3 separate regions of the Homo sapiens genome follow, and regions 2 and 3 are each linked to region 1. The links are contacts of gene promoters, found by promoter capture Hi-C in blood cells and fetal thymus (Javierre and others, 2016). All regions are on one chromosome and are shown on one strand. The core of a region is centred on a gene start or on the middle of the fragment in contact, and the rest is flanking DNA. Distances in the headings are between cores, read along the strand shown.

Region 1 (3,858 bases), core at 1,334-3,833:
AACCTTTAGGGAGAGGCAAAGCAGAGGAATGAGGCAAGATTCATTTTTGACAAAAGCCTTGTTACATCACGTGACATAAGGAGAAATCAAAGATGATTCTTTTGTGTTTTAGCTTGATTAAATAGGAATGCCAATAATTAAAAGGCAGGAATGAGGAGGGATCCACTTGAGCAGGTGGCTGGCAACTGAACTCCAGATGTGCCAAGTTTGAAGTCCTGTGGCAATATCCCGTAAGGAGTTTAACTCGTTGATCTGGAAGGAGTTCAATACAGAGATCCGGACCAGAGAGGAGGTGGGAGCGGTAGCTGTGAGAATGGCTAAGAGAAGGGGGCTGAAAGTAATATTCTGTTCAACCTTGCCATTACAGGCTGTGACGGAAGAAGATCTGAGGACAGTGAAAGAACTATTATTCCCAGAAAAGCTCTCTCAGAATCCAAGGGAAGAGCTTCAGGAAGCTCTTCAGGAAGGAAGCAATTATCATTGGTGTAAATAGTGTCAAATACCACAGAGGTGTCAAGTAAGATAACTTAATCACTGGATTGAGAGGTCTGGGAGTAAGCTGAAGGGAAAGCAGTCAGAGGGTAGCAGCAGCAGGTGAGGAGGGAGCGCACTTTCAGACATGTGAATAGCCTTCCTTTACCTTCACCTCGATGGTGAACGGTGGAACACAGGCGTTTTCTGCTCTGCCCACTATCACTTCCTCTAAGGGGTCCCATTCGTTGTAAGAAGAGACAGGGCAGTCCTTGGGCAGAGGCTCAGTGGCTTTGTCGTCAGCTGCACAGGAGTTCCGGGAGGAAGCCGTAGCTGCCTGGGTGCTCTGGAAAGTTCGCTGCACCCATCCTGTCAAGGTTCGTCCAAGCTTCCAAGAACAAAGAAAAGATTATTGTATTGCATTGCTCTATCAGTACTTACAGAGAGGAGGAAGTGGAGATGGAGTAAAAATCCAGCATAACATTGCCACTTAAACCCCTTTAGAACAGCATAAACCAAGACGTTAACAGTGTGTAGGTGGGTAGTGGGATTACAGATAATTTTTTTAACCCTCTTGTTTATCTACAAATTGTCTTCTTATCTATTAATTGCTGTAACTCTTTAAAACTCCTCAGAAGACCGTGTCCCCAGCTACCATACACCCCCATCTTTATCTCAGAATGCAATTCCTGCACTCAAGCTTTAAGCAACTGTTTTGCAGATGGGTCAGTCCTCCTCTCAGAAAACCATAGACAGCTGCTCTAAAACTTCCCGCCAGTCTCAGCTGGGGACGGAACCTCCTTTTCCCTTAAGTATCAAAGGTTACCAATATTAGGCTTTTTATTTATTTTTTTTTACAAATGAAAAGTTGGGAACATTTGTAAAGGACCTTATCTTTCAGAATAACCAGCTTCAAATCAAATTTTTTTCATCTTTGACATACACTTCGCATTCTTTGGCACTTCAATTCTGAGAGTGAGCAACTGCCATCTGCTCCATTTTACAGATGGTCCACAGTACCCTAGCCAAGGTCAGGATTAGCTCAGGCGTAAATTCAAACAAATAAGAAGGAGATCTAAAAACTTCAAAAGCCTTTTAAAAATGCATGGCCTATAAAATCTAGAGCAGGGAGGGTCCCTCAACCCCTGAGCAAACCTCAACCCCCCAAATCTCTATCCTGCTCTGTTAAAAGCCTTAGGAAGTGGGCAGGAGGAGAACTCGGGTGGAGGCAGAAGAAAGACGGAGAATGACAGCTGTTCAGGAACCAGTTGCTGGGAGGAAGCCAGAATGTCGGAGCGATTCCAGTACTAGAAGCATGGGAGGGTCTGCTGCCAGGGCAGCCGAGGGCGGGGAGCGCAGAAACTCTGCTTACAGGCTGCACTCGCCCCGACTCCTCTCCAGACGTGGGATCCCATGTTATACTTGGAGTGAATCTGGTCGCTCGCTCCCCGTCCCCGATTCCCACTTTGCTTGCCTCTTCTCCCCATCCATCTACCCCACACGCATTTTCCAGAAATCTCCCCAACTCGACGCCCACTCAGGCTACTGAACCCCAATAACGCCACCCTTTTACTAAGAGGAGCCTCCGTCGTCCCAACCCCTTGCTCCGAGCGGGAAGCTTGGTGCAGCGCACCAAGGTCCGGTAGAGGGGGGCGGCGCCCCCTGCGCCGTGGGCCAGCAGGCCGCGGACGCGCAGACAGCAAGTGGACCCCAAGGGCTGGAGCCGCAACGCAAGTTCCCCCTGACTGGGGGACGCCGCCCAGCTCCTGGAGCCTGCGAAGGCTCTTGAAGCTGAGCTTCCCAGGGATACCAGAAGGGACACTCTCGTGCAATTCCGGCTAGGGAAAGCGAGGGAAGGTGGCGGCTCCGGGCAGGGAGCGAGCGAGTGCTCCACGCCGCCCGCAGGATCGAGTGAGTCACGCGGCCGCCAGACGAGGCCGGTGGCGCACGCACCCGAGATCCGATGTAGTGCACCGCCTCGGCGCCGCGGCTCCCGCCGCGCAGACACCGCACCCGCAGCATCGCCCTGGCCCGGCTGGTCCACGCGCGGAATGTTCCTGGCCTCTGGGCCGCGTCGGTCCAAGCCTTCCCGAGAGCGCGCCCGGAGCGGGGTGGGCGGGCGCGCGGGGCCCGAGGCCTTTTGTAGCCGCGCTCCGCCCCGGCCGCCCCCCGCGGCCCCATTGGCTGCCGGGAACAGGTGGTGGGGCCGGCGTAGCGCCCCGAATTAGGAACTGTCGGGAAGCGCCGCGGCCGCTGGCTCGAGCCTCCGATGCTTGCCCTTTTTTAGCCAGCGGGGCCACTGACGGCTTCTGTTGCACGTCCGGACCCGGACCCAGACCCGAGCGTCGCAAGAAGGCCCGTTGGAGTCTCGCGCAACTGGGCAGGACGCGACTTCTGACGAAGTGACAATGGTCTATGCATATATTAAGTGAATATTTGAGAATTTAAATATGCAAAGCGTGAGTACAGTGTTACCCTTAAATTCACATATGCGCACTGAACCAGTCACCTCATTTTTCGGTAAACGAAACCACCTAAAGATTAGGTGGTTTCTTGGTGCAACATCGGGTTTGAGACTGCAGAAAACTAAGTCTGGAAATTGGGCCATTTGTTCCCCGGGGAGGCAGTGCTTTCCTTCCAGTACCCCGTCGGTTGTTATTTGGAACACCTGGCATTTCACATGGTCTTTGGCCATATGCCCCTGGCTTGAGAAACTCCGTCATGAAAATCGACAAGTGTGGGTCAGAAATAAGGGAGGACGACAGTTTCGTTCCTTCCATTTCATGTTTTAAAATTTTTGTTTCAACTTGATCAGGATTCTTTTTTAGAAAAGTATTTTCCCTCACAGTGCAGTCTTAATTGCTGTGGATTTGTACAGAGCTAGAGAACTCAGGTTAACATTTATGCTCCTAGCAGGAGGGGGGGCAAGAGATTTGAGTATTTCATTTTTGTACTTATAGAATTATAACTATTCATTTTTGATGAGCTGTCTTTTCAATTTTGGTATCTCAAGCTTGTTTTCCAGAGTTCATGGATGGAAAGCACCAGACGAGCAGATGGCATGGTGGAAAGAGCCTCCGAGAGGGAATTAGGATAACTGAGTTCCAGTCCTGAATCACTTATAGACTACTATATGTCTTCCTGAATTGCAGTCTTCTTATCTGCAAAGTGAGAACAATAGAATTTACTGTCCCTAGCACATGGGGGGTTGCTGAGAGGCCAAAATGAGAGATTGTACATGCAGAACTTGATGCGTGGCATTAGAGCTGTATGAGGCCGGGTGCAGTGGCTCACGCCTGTAATCCCAGCAATTGGGAAGGCCGAGGCAGGCGGATTGCCTGAGGTCAGGAGTTTGAGACTATCCTGGTCAACATGATGAAACCCTGT
Region 2 (3,453 bases), core at 248-2,747, 74 kb before region 1:
TTTTAGTAGAGACAGGGTTTCACCATGTTGGCCAGGCTGGTCTTGAACTCCTGACCTCAGGTGATCCACCTGCCTCAGCCTCCCAAAGTGCTGGGATTTACAGATGTGAGCCACCACATCCAGTCTTTTTTTTTTTTTTTTTTGATCCATTTTGAGTTACTTTTGATCCATTTTGAGTTACTTTTTGTATATGGTGTGAGGTAGGGGTCCAAAAAGTGTCATTCTTTTGGATGTGGATATCCAGTTTTCCCAGAACCATTTGTTGAAAAGATTACTTCTTCCCCATCAAATGGTCTTGTCACCCTTGTTGAAAATCAATTGTCCATAGATGTATGGGTTTACTTCTGGTCTCTCAATTCTATTCCATTGATGTTTATCTCTGTCCTTATGCCAATACCTCACACTGTTTTGATCACTGTAGCTATGTAGTAAGTTTTGAAATTGGAAACTATGAGTCTTCCAACTTTGTTATTTTTTTGATATTATTTTAGATAATCAGGGCCCCTTGCAATTCCCTATGAATTTGAGAGGATCTACTTTTCCATTTCTGCAAGAAAAAAAAAGGCATTGGAATTTTTATAGGAATTGCATTGAATATGTAGATCACTTTGGGTAGCATTGCTGTCTTAACAATATTAAATATTCCAATTTCCAATAGATGAATATGAGATATCTTTTCATTTATTGATGTCTTCTTAACTTTCTTCCAGCAATGTATTGTAGTTTTCAATGCACAAGGCTTTCACCTCCTTAGTTAAATTTATTCCTAGATATTTTATTCTTTTGGATGCTATTATAAATGAGACTGTTTTCTTAAGTTCCTTTTTGAATCATTCTTGCATGTCCACTATTAATTTGTACTGAAATCTTCTAAGCTTTTCATTAACTTGTCACTTTGTAATCGTTCTCAAGTCATAAATTACCCAACAATATCAAAAATATTTATTATTTAAGAATATCACCAACTTCTGAGCACAATTCTTTTTTCTCTTTCTTATTACATCTAGTACAGTGTCCTCTTTACTTATAATATAGGTATTCAGTAAACTTATTAATTTACCAATTTTTATTCATTATTTATTTTTATGTATTTTTAAATTTTAGAGTCAGGGTCTTGCTCTGTTGCCTAGGCGAGAGGGCAGCAGCACAGTCATAGCTCATAGCAGACTCAAACTCCTGGGCTCAAGCAAGCCTTCCCCCTCAACCTCCCAAGTAGCTAGGACTACAGGCGTGCACCACCATGTCCAGCGAATTTTTAAGTTTTTTGTAGAGATGGAGTCTCTGTATGTCACCCAGGCTGGTCTTGAACTCTGGGCCTCAAGTGATCCTCTGCCTCGGCCTCCCAAAGTTCTGGGATTACAGGTGTGAGCTACCACGCCCAGCCCTTGATTCATTACTTTAAAAAATGCAAAATCATGTCATGTAAATATCTATCCATGCTTTCTTTCTATTCCTATTAGCATTGCCTTAGTCAGGCACATGCAGTTTCTCCCTGTGGAATTTTCAGGTTTTTTTAAATATTGTCTCTTCTTCCTTCCTAAATCTTGATGGTAATTTGTTTTTGCAGTCTGGATCAAGATCAAAATTGCTGCAGGCTACCTCAACTTGTCTTTGGTTCATCCATGCTGCTCTTAAGGGAGAAAGAGAGAAAGGGTTCAGGTTCAGTTATTAAAATACCTCTTCCATGAAGTTTCCCCTAGACTGATTATTGAAAAGCTAAAGCTAATTACCTCTCTTTTTCCATCTCATTTGCGTGAAATCGTAATCTCTCCAGCTTTGTATCTAATTATGTACTCACTCTTGCCTTAATTAAAATGTATTTAAAATCACAGAATTAGAAGTTGGAGGGGATCTTAGGAATATAATGCAGACTCCTGGTTAAATGTGGTCGAATGAGCACATTCACTTGTCGCTGATGCCTAGCCAAAGCCTTCTAAAATGTCAATATATTCAAAATGCATAAACCAACAAGGACAAAAAAACTGGGTAAGAAGATGACAGTGACTACACTTCAAGAGTTGTAAAGCCGATGGAAAGGTGGAAACTGACCTAGCAGAGTGATAACCCATTAAACTATTAATGAAAAAAACTCAGAGCAAGCCAATTCCCAGAACTCCAGAAAAGCTTGGGTATTAGAGGTGGTAGGTATCTCTGAAAGGGGAAAAATGACTGAAAAAAAAGCCATAGTTGAGGGTAGGGATACTTTACAGAAAATGGGACTTAAACGAAAGCCAATATTAGACAGTGACAACCTAGCTCCCTTCTCCAACTCGGTTCTGAGAATTCTGCAACCAGCTTACCCTCTTCAACCCACAGGAAACTGGAAAATTCCTCTTTGGGAAAATGTTCCACCCCAAGAGCAGGGAAAACCTTCCAAGCTTAATAAGATCATTCTACACTGATCAGCCCAACCTCCTACTCTGCCTCACCTCTGGTATTGGTCTCACTGTTCTTTCTTTTAGTTTAATTTATCGTGGTAAGAACACTGAACATGAAATCTACCCTATTAACACATTGTTAGGTGTGCAATATGTTTTTGTTGTCTATAGGCACATTGTCATGCTGCAGATCTCTAGAGCTTATTCATCTTGTTTAACTGATACTTTATGCCTATGATTAGTCACTGTCCTATAAAGGATCACCTTCAGACAATAAAGGAATTTCTCCAGCATGAAGGACAGAATGAACAAAATGGAACTCAGAGGAAATCAAAGCAATGGAGTTGGCAGGAAAATGTGTTTAAAAAATACCTACTGTCTGTTCCTGTTGCTAGGAAAAGATATCATATCTCCCCTTTCCCCAAAGAAAGGAGGCTTTAAAAAGGAGAATTGAGAAGAAAAGAGACTCCTGTAAGTGGAAAATGCTATAGTAGAAAAAAAAAATTCAACAGAAGGGAAGGAAAATAAGACGAGGAAAATAAAGTGGTTTCTGAGGACTGAAACCACATAGTTTACTGTTTAAATTTACAAGACATTACTCTTTCAGTCTCTTCACAAATAAAACTTTATTATAAAAGGGACCTCTTTCATGAGGCAATAAAAGAAGCAAATAACTTTGTTTATTCTGGGATTTATTTCCCCCAGAAACTGTTAAAATAAACATCAAACTGTCCGATTTACCAATAGATATCATCAAGTGACAGTTTACTCCCCAAGAATTGTTTTTTTCTTTTTCTTTCTCTCGCTCTCTTTTTTTTTTTTTTTTTTTTTTTTTTGAGACAGGGTCACGCTCTATTGCCCAAGCTGGAGTGCAGTGGCATGATCATAGTTCACTGCAGCCTCCAGCTCCTTGACTCAAGTGATCCTCCCTCCTTAGTCTCCTGAGTAGCTGGGACTACAGGCATGCATCACCACACTCAGCTAATTTTTTTATTTTTTGGTAGAGACAGGGGTCTCACTATGTAACCCAGGCTGGTCTCAAACTCCTGGGCTCAAGTGATCCTCCCTCAGCAGC
Region 3 (3,684 bases), core at 215-2,714, 94 kb before region 1:
TTTCCCCAGTGGTAAACAGGATAGTATAACCCTGCCATGCAGGGGCATGCATGACAATTACTAAGGCTTTCACCTCCAGTTGACTGGGATGAGGTGCAGATAGAAGATAAGGAATTAGGATATTATGTGGCTGCTGTATTTGATCAGTATGGGAGCAATAATAACGGCACAGAGTGGAGAATAGACTGGCTGCTCTTGAGAGCATTGGAAGTCTTGGAAAAAGAAAATGATAGTTTAAAGCAGCATATTGCCAACTAAGTAACAATATGAAAGCCAGAGGAGTTCTGTGGCAGCCATAAAGGAGACTCATCTCTTGCAGCAGTAGGTTAGACACTGTTGAAAACAATGAGAACACTTGGACACAGGGTGGGGAACATCACACACCGGGGCCTGTAGTGGGGTTGGGGGAGGGGGGAGGGATAGCATTAGGAGATATACCTAATGTAAATGATGAGTTAATGGGTTCAGCACACCAACATGGCACATGTAAGCATATGTAACAAACCTGCACATTGTGCACATGTACCCTAGAACTTAAAGTATAATTTTAAAAAATTTAAAAAAATTAGGTTCAGGGCTGGGTGCAGTGGCTCACACCTGTAATCCCAGCACTTTGGGAGGTCGAGGTGGGTGGATCACCTGAGGTCAGGAGTTTAAGAGCAACCTGGCCAACATGGCAAAACCCTGTCTCTACTAAAAATACAAAACTAGCTGAACATGATGGTGCACACCTGTAATCCCAGCTGTTGGGGAGGCTGAGGCAGGAGAATCACCTGAACCGGGAGACAGAGATTGCAGTGAGCCAAGATTGTGCCATTGCACCCCAGCCTGGGCTACAGGAGGGAAACTCTGACTCAAAAAAAAAAACAATAAATAAAAAGAAAAGAAAAGAAATTAGGTTCAGGATCCAGAATGGCAAAGCTGCTAAAGGTATTGAATGCATAGCTTCAACAGCTTTCCCATGTGGAGGTATTTTCCAGAAAAGAAAAATGTGAGGCGTTAAGACCTGAATAAGAAATATGTGAGTGGCAGAGTGACCAGTGAACCCAAGGCATCAGCATCACCTGCTAGACATGCAGAGTCTCAGGCCTCGCCCCAGACCCACTGAATCAGAATATGCATGTTAACAAGATTCCCTGGCCGGGCACCGTGGCTCACGCCTGTAATCTCAGCACTTTGGGAGGCAGAGGCAGGAGGATTGCTTGAGCCTACAAGTTCAGGGCCAGCCTGGGCAACATAGTGGACCCCGTCTGTACAAAAAAATTAAAAAAAAAAATAGCCAGGTGTGGTCCCAGCTGCTTGGGAGGCTGAGGCAGGAGGATCGCTTGAAGCCGGGAGGTTGGGGCTGCAGTGAGCCATGATCATGCCACTGCATTCCAGCCTGGGTGACAGAGCAAGACGCTATCTCAAAAATAAATAAATAAATAAATAAAATATGTGAGTGGATGAGCCTCAAAATCTGGAGCTCCTAATTGTCCCTAAATCTTCCTGGCCAGCAGAAGCAGTCCCTTTTCTTTCTTATTTATTTATTTATAATGCTGTCAGCAAAACCCTTTTCTCTTGACTAAGGAAAACAGCCTCCCCTTGCCCATCCAAAATAGGTCATTGCAGAATAACTTTCGTTCTTCCCAAGATAAGCCTCCATTCTCTGCCTTTTTTGCCTCCAGTCTGGTAATCTGTGCCAGAGCTCAGCACAGCCTGAGCAGGGAAGTACAGGTCCTGCTCCAGAAGGAGTTAGCCTCCATTCCAAAGGAACTGTAGGACCTGGAGAATATGTAAGAACTGAGGACTAAACTCTAATTTTTTTATCTGCCCAAATTCCTACCTAAGGGGTCTAGGGAGTCATGTCCTACAAACCATAAATTCTCATCAGATGGGTTTTGTTTGACCCTATATATCGTGACTTACTTTTCAATCACTCTGGCATAACATTGAGACAAGGAAGAAATATTTAACCCCAAAATATATTTCCTTGCTATACCTTGAAATTGCCCTACAAAGTCTCTTGTGGGAAAAATACATATCCTGTAGAGAATCCCCTTCCCCCTTTGTTTTCTTTCCTTTCTTTCCAGATCCAGGAGATAATCAACTAAGAGCCAGACACCCTTTTAGGTCTGATAAGAAACATTTTATAACCTGCTCTCTCTCTGAAGTCTGCTATCTGCACAATAAAACTTGGTCTCTCCATAATCCTCTTTCTTAACCTGAACATTCCTTTCCATTAATCCCAGGTCTTCAGATAAACTCAACCAATTGTCAACCAGAAAATGTTTAAATCTACCTATACCCTGAAGCCCCCGGTTTGAGTTGTCCCACCATTCTGAACCAAACCAATGTATTTTATTTTATTTTCTTTCTTTCTTTTTTTTTTTTTTTTGAGATGGAGTTTTGCTCTGTCACCCAGGCTGGAGTGCAGTGGCGTGATCACAGCTCACTGCAGCCTCAGCCTCCTGGGTTCAAGCGATTCTCCTGCCTCAGCCTCCCAAGTAGCTGGGATTACAGGTGCACGCCACCAAGCCTGGCTAATTTTTGTATATTTAGTAGAGCTGGGGTTTTGCCATGTTGGTCAGGCTGGTCTCAAACTCCTGACCTCAGGTGTTCTGCCCGCCTCAGCCTCCCATAGTGTTGGGATTACAGGCATGAGCCACCATGCCCAGCCCAATATATTTCTTAAATGTATTTGATTGATGTATCATGCCCCCCTAAAAATATATAAAACCAAGCTGTACCCCAACCACCTTGGGTACGTGTTCTTAGGACCTCCTGAGGGCTGTGTCACAGGCCATGATCACTCATATTTGGCTCAGAATAAACCTCTTAAAATATTTTACAGAGTTTGACTCTTTGTCAACAGAATCAGGGTAATGTAGGTGGGAGTAGATCTTGAAAATGTAAGACTGGGGAGAGAGAGAGAGTGAGTGCATAAAATAAGGTTTTATAAGAGAGAATTCATTACCTGAGGGCATACATTCATGAGTGGTTATCCAGTGTTTTGGCAAGAGCACTTGAGGTCACTATAAATAGTTTGTTGTGCTGTTTCCTTGAAGCTTGGACACACCAGAAATAATCTTGGCATTGTACTGGAGAAGGGATCAAAAGTCATAGGAAAATGAGAACGTTAGAATATATTTACTATGTATTAAGACCTGCTAACCCGCCACCTGTCTATATACTCCAAGAGCCCAGGGAACTTCCTTATACTAAGGAATAAGAAATACATTGGTGAAAGGAGCCCTGTCAAGGCCAAGAGTGGGGGATACTGCCATGGAACACGGATCTCTAGTATCAAAAGGGTTGATGGAATTCCAGAATACCAGAAGCCAAATAACACTCAACTAACAGAGCAAAGGTAAATACAATTACCATAATGGGCAGCAATGCCAGTACGACAATCAAGGTGCCTTGACCCATAAATATTTTTGGCAACAATTAGTAGATTTGAGTATTCCTAGGGTTGAGACAGATGGACAGCCATGTAGGATATTACTTAATTTATAAAATAAATGCATGAATTGGTAAGCAGAAGGCTGACATCAGCCATCACAATGGAACATTGGTTTCCCTCAGCTAGTTTCCAAGTCTAAGTCAGTTTAGAAACCCATAGCCCATTGATTGAAGGGGAGGCTGAGTCCACTTGAGAAGGAAACTCCAAAACTACCATAAGTATATACATCAGTATTTTTA

The links. The method cuts DNA at HindIII sites, captures the fragments that hold promoters and counts their contacts. A CHiCAGO score of 5 or more calls a contact.
Region 2: a fragment that was not itself captured here is called in contact with the fragment with the promoter of GATM in region 1 in 3 of 17 cell types (M1 macrophages, M2 macrophages and M0 macrophages); the score reaches 6.6 in M1 macrophages.
Region 3: a contact is called between a fragment that was not itself captured here and the fragment with the promoter of GATM in region 1, in 1 of 17 cell types (naive B cells). The highest score is 5.2, in naive B cells.

Annotation. Positions count from the first base shown.
Region 1 is chr15:45,375,961-45,379,818 of GRCh38, forward strand. It overlaps GATM (glycine amidinotransferase), which reads right to left and starts at 2,584. Exons shown (of 9, transcript NM_001482.3): 1 at 2,425-2,584; 2 at 641-859. The coding sequence starts at 2,493. RefSeq lists a silencer at 2,383-2,712 and an enhancer at 2,853-2,932. The HindIII fragment of the contact is 1,395 bases long and covers 2,088-3,482 here.
Region 2 is chr15:45,303,216-45,306,668 of GRCh38, forward strand. No RefSeq gene overlaps it. Among named protein-coding and RNA genes, the nearest start is that of SLC28A2-AS1, 26 kb to the left of the region's middle. The HindIII fragment of the contact is 1,249 bases long and covers 874-2,122 here.
Region 3 is chr15:45,282,629-45,286,312 of GRCh38, forward strand. No RefSeq gene overlaps it. Among named protein-coding and RNA genes, the nearest start is that of SLC28A2-AS1, 5.2 kb to the left of the region's middle. The HindIII fragment of the contact is 3,162 bases long and covers 1-3,045 here.